2 separate regions of the Homo sapiens genome follow, and region 1 is linked to region 2. The links are contacts of gene promoters, found by promoter capture Hi-C in blood cells and fetal thymus (Javierre and others, 2016). All regions are on one chromosome and are shown on one strand. Each heading gives the region's core, a stretch centred on a gene start or on the middle of the fragment in contact. The rest is flanking DNA. Distances are from core to core; before and after follow the strand shown. Region 1 has its middle 50 kb from the start of KCNIP1. Region 2 holds the start of C5orf58 (chromosome 5 open reading frame 58).

The links. Contacts are between HindIII fragments. The CHiCAGO score rates a contact against its expected background, and 5 or more counts as called.
Region 1: a contact is called between a fragment that was not itself captured here and the fragment with the promoter of C5orf58 in region 2, in 1 of 17 cell types (activated CD4 T cells). The highest score is 6.3, in activated CD4 T cells.

Annotation. Positions count from the first base shown.
Region 1 is chr5:170,451,977-170,456,489 of GRCh38, reverse strand. It overlaps a transcript of KCNIP1 not described here. Among named protein-coding and RNA genes, the nearest start is that of KCNIP1, 50 kb to the left of the region's middle. The HindIII fragment of the contact is 1,433 bases long and covers 921-2,353 here.
Region 2 is chr5:170,231,127-170,235,826 of GRCh38, reverse strand. C5orf58 (chromosome 5 open reading frame 58) reads right to left here and starts at 2,842. Exons shown (of 4, transcript NM_001102609.3): 1 at 2,820-2,842; 2 at 1,629-1,712; 3 at 757-850. The coding sequence starts at 850. The HindIII fragment of the contact is 4,262 bases long and covers 538-4,700 here.

The DNA of each region.
Region 1 (4,513 bases), core at 388-2,887, 220 kb before region 2:
TTTTTTTAAAAAAATTTTACTCTAAGTTTGGGGATACATGTGCAGAATGTGCAGGTTTGTTACACAGGTATACATGTGCCATGGTGGTTTGCTGCACCTATCAACCTGTCATCTAGGTTTTAAACCCCATATGCATGAGGTATTTGTCCTAATGCTCTCCCTCCACTTGCCCCCCACCCTCCGACAGGCCCCGGTGTGTGATGTTCCCCTCCCTGTGTCCATGTGTACTCATTGTTCAACTCCCACTTATGAGTGAGAATATGTGGTGTTTGTTTATCTGTTCCTGTGTCAGTTTGCTGAGAATGATGGCTTCCAGCTTCATCTATGTCCCTGCAAAGGACATAAACTCATTCTTTTTTATGGCTGCATAGTATTCCATGGTGTATATGTGCCACATTTTCTTTGTCCAGTCTATCATTGATGGGCATTTGGGTTGGTTCCAAGTCTTTGCCATTGGAAATAGTGCCTCAATAAATATATGTATGCATGTGTCTTTATAGTAGAATGATTTATAATCCTTTGGGTGTATACCCAGTAATGGGATTGCTGGGTCAAATGGTATTTCTGGTTCTAGATCCTTGAGGAATCGCCATATTGTCTTCCACAGTGGTTGAACTAATTTACAGTCCCACCAACAGTGTAACTTTCTCCATTTTTAATGTAGGTATGTGGAGCTATAAATTTCCCTCTAAGCATTGCTTTAGCTATATTGCATAAATTTTTATATGTTGTGTCTTAATTTTCATTCATCTCAAAGTATTTTCTCATTTATTTTGTGATTTCTTCTTCAACCAATTGGTTACTTATGGGTATGTTAATTTCTATATAGTTGTGAGTTTCCAAAAGTTCTTTCTAATTTTATTCTTTGTGGCCAAGGAACAGATTGTGTATAATTTCAGTCCTTTTAAATTATCGAAGCTTGTTTTGTGGCCTAGCATATGGTCTATTCTACAGAATGTTTGATGTGTACTTAAGAAGAATATGTGGGCCAGGCATGTGGCTTGTGCCTATAATCCCAGCACTTTGGGAAGCTGAGGCCCATGTATCACCTGAGCCTGGGAAGTTGAGGCTGCAGTGAGCCATGATCACACCACTGCACTCTAGCCTGGGCAACAGAGTAAGATCCTGTTGAAGAAGAAGAAGAAGGAGAAGGAGAAAGAGAAGAAGGAAGAAGAAGAAGGGGAAGGGGAAGGGGAAGGGGAGGAGGAGGAGAAGTAGGAGGAGGAAGACTTCTGTTGTTGGGTGGATTATTCTATAGATATCCATTAGGCCTAGTTGGTGTATAGCTTTGTTAAAATATTCTATTTTCTTGTTGATCTTATGTCTAGTTGTTCTATCCATTATTGAAAGTGAGGTATTGAAGTTTCTAAATATTGCTGAGCTGCCTATTTATTTATCCCTTCAACTTTGTCAGTTTTTGTTTTATGTATTTTGAGATTCTATTTTTAGGAGCATATTTGTTTATAATTGTGGTATCTTCCTGATATTTTGATACTTTTATTATTATAAAATGTCCCTTTCTATCTGTATTAACATTTTTGTTTTAAAATCCATTTTGTCTAACATTGAAATAGCTACTCCAGGTTTATCTCTTCTTTTTTTAAGAACAATATTTTTTTAACCTTCATTGAACTTTGTAGTGAGGGTAAAAGTAATAGAAACATCAAATGAATACACAGACTAGATAATCTGTAAAAATAACTAGTTCTTTATGTTTACACAGAAGTCTGTCACACAGATTTCAGAATTACATAGCTTAAAGAGTTCTAATTATATAAAAACATTCTTAATTCTGAAATATTTCCAACTTCCTACTCATTTTTCTTAGAAATCTACAGGCAACATTTCATAGTTTTACCAGGTAAAGTTTAATGTCTTTTCATATGATCATCAGGAAGTTTTCTAAACTTCTCACCTGCATTCTTAATTCTTAGTCTGTGTAAGACAGAGTACAAAAACCAGTTCTCCTGGGCATCAGGTATCTCCTGACTTATAAGTAAGGGTCTCTGGCAGGATGCAAACATTTTAGGTCAAGGCCACTTCTTGGAATTTGTTTCAGGTTTAGGTACACTCCTCTAGTCCTTCATTACATTTAATGCCAATCTCTTTGTTTCACATTGCTCATTATCACTTGGAAGAAGCTACCTGTATGCATACCAAAATTTAATTTGTCCCTTCCTCCCACCTTTTGTGAGTTAATTATACTCACTTCTTCGAGTCAACCATGAAAACAAATGCACTTCTTGAGGATTTTAAAGAAATTTGGGTGTGTTGAGAAAGAAAAGACCTTCTAAAACTGCAGGACGTTTTCCTCTTTTTGCAAAGCATGAATTATTCTTCTAGGAATAAAGCTTGCTTTCCTGTGAATGGATTGAAATCTGGAGCTAGCTAACCTTCTTGAGCAGCTGTAATAGTTTTCTAAACTGTGTAACAACTAACATACCTTTATGATGTGACAGTTTCTGTGGGTCAGAAGAATGGACACGGTTCAGCTGTGTCCTTTTCCCCAGGTCTCACAAGACTGCAATCAAGGTGTTGGCTGGTCTGTATTTTACTTGTCAGGCTCAACTTGGGGAGAATCTAGTTCCAGCCTTACTCAGGATGTTGGCAGAATTCATTTCCTGTATGTGTAGAACCAAGGACGTCTGTTTCTTGCTGGGTGTTTGCTGGATGCCAGTCTCAGCACCTGGGCTTCCCACAGCTCCTTGCCACGTGGAAGTCTTCATCATGGTTACATACTTTGTCAAGTCAGCAAGGAGAATCTCTAGCATGAATCTTCCATCATAAAGGAGCCACATGATGTAATGTAATCACAGGAGTAACGTCCCACCACCTCCGCCATATTCCACTGGTTAGAAGCAAGTCACAGATCTCATCTACCTTCAAGTGGAGGTTATTACATAAAGGTGTAAATACCAGAAGGCAGAGCTGATTGGCAATTAATTTAGGGTCTGTCCACTAGTCGTGTTGGAGTACTCCTTAAAAGATATGCCCCAAAGTTACTTTCAGATTTTCTAAAAAGGAAACTGGAACCAGGAATGTGGTACCCCGCTAAATGATGCCTGGAAGTGCACCTGTTTTCTTTGGTGGTATGGTGGCTGCAATATGTGAAAACTGCCTTTCCCCATCCTTCAGCACTAAGCCAGCACATTGGAAGATGTGACAAAGACCATTACATTGAAATAGAGGCCACTTCTCTAATAAGGCAACTTTCCTTTAAAGTTAAATTGAGAAACTAAGTGACTGGATGATATCCTTTTAATGGCTGCTGAGCGTAAATGCATTTTGAGAGCAAATGCTCCTTCAGGAATGATCATTTCTAATGTTCTTTCAAGTCGTCAATTTGGAGGGTGAAGAGGAATGTGATTAGAAGACCAAACTAACAAAGAATTTTGAGACCAGCAAAAATGTTGACTGCACGGACGTATAATTTAAACTGCCAAAGTGCTAGCACATTTTTCATGCAAAATATACTTAATCAGTAATAATCCTGTTCCTCAAGAAGGCTTCTAATATGTTTTATTGCCTTTTTAGATTTTTCCCCCTTCATTTTCTAAAATATAATCATAGTTCAGCAACTCCATCTGTGAACGATCCAGCGATGAATTCTGGGTGGTAATGATGTACAACGAGTGAATAACAATTCCTTAATCACGCTGTTTCCTCTGTTGTCGCCTCATTTGAATTCCTGGTTTTCAGAAAATTCAATTATAGTTGCAATTTCATCAAGAAATTACTCAGACAAATAACTGACAGAGAGTAACAGTTCGCTTCTTTGTCAGGATAAAGGCAGAGGGAGCAGGGTGGGGAGAGAAGTGGCAAAAGACAGATTTGATTAAAAGTGTCGTAAAGAAGTTTTGCTTTCCTGAGAGGCAAAGGAGAAGGGTGACAATTTTACAGCCATGGATGTCAGCTTGGCCTGAAGATGGGAAGTGACAGGAGCCCCTAAATGAAACTTCCTCATCCATCAAGGCTGGCCTAACATCCCTCTCTGGACCCATCACCAGCTTTTGTTGACATTTATGAGGCCCCAGCCCTCATTCCAGGCAGAAATTTACAATGGGCAATCAGAGGTGCCCATGGCTACCTTCATCATCTGAGTTTCATATTGAATTCTGTAGCCATGCACACTAGGCGCTTTCCGGTTGCTAAGGAGAAGCCCTATCTTGACTTCAACGTTGCCAATAAAGATTCTCTGAGTTTTCGAAGAAGGAGATTAATCATCCTCCTCAACTAACATCTGTTGGCATTCTGTCTCCATTGGGTGATTCAGCCCATTACCCAACCACTGTCAGAGGTGATGCAAGCACCACACAGTGCGTCTCTAATCCACACTCAAAGCCTGAATTTTGTTCTGTTCTCAGTCCCCAATGCCACCAACCACGTTTCCCTCTGGGTCTTTCCATGGGAAGCAGGCCTGAGGAATGGAGACGGAGTCACAGGGGTGTCCATGGATTGGAGTGATATCAGCAGGACTTATGAGGATGGCCTTACAGTTACCACTCCATGACAA
Region 2 (4,700 bases), core at 1,593-4,092:
TATAGATGTAGGCCTCATAACTGACACAGGTTATCTTTAAATACCCAAGAGTTGTTTTAAAAAGAATAACTACATATTCAGTGTAGTTTTCATGGTTAGAAATAGGACTCTTAGGTGAAAGCAATAGGGGAACAGATTTCAGCTAGCTGGTGAGAAGGAATTGTTTAAAATAGAATGGATTGACTAGTGAGACAGGAAGTTCCCCAGCATAAGAAATGTTTGGTCAGGGATAGATTATCCCTAGAAATATTCAATCACAGAAATTTTCTTGGGATAAAATAACTGAATATGTCTGTGAGGTGAGCGACTAAACATCATGACCTATAAGGTCTAATCCTACTATATGAATCTGTTTAAAATGAAGAAGCTTTAAGTCACAGAATCTAATTTATACTTTTTAATTTGGAATGGACCTTAGGGGCTTAGTAAGAATTTATAAAGACAATGAATTTTGCTGAATGTGACATAGTCTTGAATGGTGTGTTGAAGGGAAGGAAGGGAAGTAAAATTTACAGAGGTTAGACAACCTGATAAGCTTATTAATGTCAGGGATGGGAATTCAGGTCTGCTAACTCCAAAGTCGAACATAATTCATCTTTAGAGATCTAGTTCACTTACACTGAAAACATTTGTTAAGAAATAGAGAAATCCTAATTAGTGGGCAAAATTTACTTATACCCCAGCAGAAACACAAACTGGCTCTATCATTTATTTTATAACAATGACATGCAAACATTTTAGTGATTCAATACTTACCTTTTATCTTCTTCAACTCCGAAGAAATTGTGTTAATATTTTTAATTACTTTGTCCACATTTAGCTTATGATCAGTAACACGCTTCTTACCCATCTGATTTTAAAAGAAAAACAGAAACAATGTATAAATCAGTATTTATGTGTACTTTTAAAATACTTACATTTTCAGTATTTCTATAAATCTGTTATTTCAGAAATAATTATGAAACAAATCTTTATAAATGGTTAGAATTCTAACATCAAAAGGCATTAATGTGTTATGTAATATTTTTCCAACTAAAAACTCCAACTGGAATTTGTAGGATGAGGTTCCTTCCTCAATCAAACCATATCCACAAGATAGGGCTTACAATGGAAATGAAGATGTCCCCTTTTCAGAAAGCCTCAGCCCTTATAAACTACCTTACAATTTAGCGTTTGTGTTAAGATCTTCTCTAATTTTGTTTATGTAAGTCCATGTCTTTTTCTAACTTATTCTTGAATAACAGGGCCCACATATGATTTAAGTACACAGTGAAACTCAAAAAAGAATTTTATTCTAATTCATTAAGAGGATAATTCAATTATAATCCACTAAGAGTATGGCAAATGGCTGGTTTGGTTTTGGGAGTTAGAGTAACAGACATTTTAATTTTGGTTAACTGAAATGTATAAATCAACGCATTCCTATGTTATACAGTACCTGTATTTAACCAATTGTGTCAGATACAAATATACAGAGAGGTGGTTCACTAGAAACTAGTCTTAAGCTGTTCAGTCTCTCAAAATGACTTGAAAAACTCCATCTCAATTAGCATACACAACTCCAGCAGTGTGAAAGGTGGGCAGTCATGGGTCAAGCTGCTTGTCCAAAATAATGAAAACAAACTAACCTTTAAGTCAATCCTTGCCTCTACCTTTTCCTGAGCAGGGAGAATTTCTGCAATTTCTCTCATTTCAGAGCCACTGTAAAAAAACTAATTTTGTTTCCCAGACATTAATAAAATGCGCTTTGCATCTACCCCCAAGACCCCATTCTCCAGGATGTCAGCTGCCTTCCTTGGGCATGCCAAACCAAGAGTCAAGTTGCAGGGAAAAAGAAAGATGATATTTTAACAAGGGGTGGAGTGGTGGAATTAAAGAACTTCAAAAACAAGGCAAAAGTTTTTTAAAAATAGTAAAGTAGAAACTAAATGATTTTAGAGCCCAAGACAGTGGCCTCTCTCCACTCTGGTTCTCCTAGGCCCTCGAGCACCCAGCGCGTGGGTGGGGTGAGGGCACAGTGGGGTGCTACACAACAATGTAGCTGGGACTGGACTGGAGGCAGGACAGGTCTGGGTCAAGCCCTCCCCGGGGAGCTCGGCCAGGCCACTACCCAGAAAGGAGAGGCTGCTCCAACAGCAATTCACCGGGAGTGGGGAAGCGGAGACCAGACTGTAGGGGCCATAGGAATGGGGGGTCAGAAGCCAGGATGTCGCTGACTCAAGGCCTGATACCACTAGAGCGCCATCTCCGGGCCACAGGACGCCGCCCAGGCCCTCAGCCCGCAGCCCTGCAGAGCCATCGTTAGCACCGCAGGTTCTACTCTGAAAGCCCAGCCTCCTCCTTGGCCCAACTGACACCTGGGAGGAGCCCCAGATCTTTAGGGCCCTCAGCGACCCAACTGCCCATGAAGACCCCCCAGATCTTTGGGGCCATGAGCGGCCCAACCACCCGCTCAACAGCTAAAGATGGAGCCTGAGGCATCTGGAAGTTTCCACAGTCCTCGCCCTCCCAGACAGGATTTGGAATGAACCTTTGGGGCTTACTAAGTTTCTTGCCAAGTGGACAGGATTAGGGTAATGTAAAATGCCCTCAGAGTGACCCCGGCCTACGGACAGCCACCAGCCGCCAGGCCCACCCAGCCAACCGTCCCCTTCTCGGCCCAACCGACACCCAGGGAGAGGCTCCGAGGCCAGCCCGGCCCACCGCCCACCCGTTGGGTGGTGGAAGGTGGAGCCTCGGGCAGCCTGGAAATTTCAGCGGTCTTCACCCTCCCAAACCAGATTAGGATCCTTCAAGACCGAGCAGCCGTCACTACCCACCTGGCCAACCGTCACCGAGGTTCTGACAGGAGCAGGGAGCCGACGGTGAAGGCGAAGCCGCGCCCCCTGATTGGCCAGCTTCTCCGCCTGCGGCATCCTGGGAGTTGTAGTCCCAGGCAAGGCCCCTACGGAGAAGGTTCTGGATGCCGGGTTACAACTGACTCGCGCGGCCACGTTGGCGGAAAAAGCACTGACATTCCTTACCCCCAGTGTGCCAGGCTTTTGCAACCCTTATCTGCATTTGAGTCGCACAGGATAGCGGTAGCGTTAAGTGCAGACTCTGGAATGAAGCCACTTGGGTTTGAATCCTATTCTATCACCTGCTTAGTTGTATAGATGCAGATAAGCGATTAACTATTCAGAGTGCAGATGTCCTCACCTATCGTATGGAACGATAATAACTGCCTTCCAGTGTTAGTTTGAGGGTTAAGTGAGATAATTCATCAGAGGTGCTTGGCAGATACCAAGTGCTCCATAACTGTTAGCTATTATTTTTCCTATAACATTTTATAGGAATGATAATAGTAAAGAGTAGCATGAATAAAGAGATGAGTTGAGACATGGAAAATGGTTTTTTGCCAAGCTGAGAAGCTGGGATTCGAGCCGTCTTTTGCTTGACTCCAGAGGAATCTCTGCCACTGCAACCTTTGAGGCAGGCCCAAAGATTTTTCTTGGTGCCCTGAGAAATTGAGGAGTTTAGGCTTTCAGCACAAGGTGCTATACAACAAGTCTTTGCGTCTATGCCTCCCCTATAGTACACACCAGCCTCTTGAACCATCACCTTCCTGAAAGCCCACATCACAATTGTTGGGTATTTTATATCCAATTTCCTTCACTTTAACACTGCAGAATTTGTTGTCGAATGCAATTACCTAGATGAGGAGGGACAGAGGAGAACAGAGCTTAATGATAACCAGCTGTATGATCTTAGAAAAGAATATCTTCCTTATTCTGAGTCTCTGTTTCCTTATCTGTTTTCTATTGAGAGGGATGGGCTAAACCAGTAGTTCCTAAATTGTACTAATTGCTGGGCCACTGTTAAGATTCTGTGCTTATGGCACTCATATTATTATTATCTTCTCCTAAACACCTTATTGTCTCCTGTGGTTAACTACAGGGAGTTTCTAAAGGTGAAGAAGTTTTTAATGATAACCAGCTTTGTAAAATACGAAGCTATATTATTGCCTTCATATTTTAAATCTACTTATTTTTAAAATTTAAGTCTACTTAAAAATCTTTATATCACCAGTGTTAAATAGAATAAAACGTAAAGTCAGGCCAGGCACGGTGGCTCGCCTGTAATCCCAGCACTTTGGGAGGCTGAGGTGGGTGAATCACGAGGTCAGGAGTTCGAGACCAGCCTGGCCAACATGGTGAAACCTCGTCTCTACTAAAAATACAAAAAATTAGCTGGACGTAGTGGTGGCCACCTGTAACCTCACCTACTCAGGAGGCTGAGGCAGGAGAATCGCTTGAACCCGGGAGGCAGAGGTTGCAGTGAGCCGAGATCGCACCACTGCACTCTAGTCCAGGTGACAGAGTGAGACTCCATCCCAAAACAAACAAACAAAACTCATAAAGTCATTGGAAAAATAAAGACAGTGAAAATAAGGCATATTTTAATCATGTATATACGCTCGCAACCAGTTGCAGTGTTTTCTGCAGCCTGATCTTTTTTGTTAAAATGGGTTCTTATTAAGTGTTAGAGAAGTGTTAAAGACAGTCTAGCACAAACCAAGACTTTCTTCTTGATATAATTAGAATGACTGAAAGAGTTAAAAGAGGAATACAAATACGGGGAGACCAACATAGGGTAAGCAACATTTATTTCTAAATTAGGACATTAATGTATAAAACCAAGCAAAAAGAACTGGCTTCATT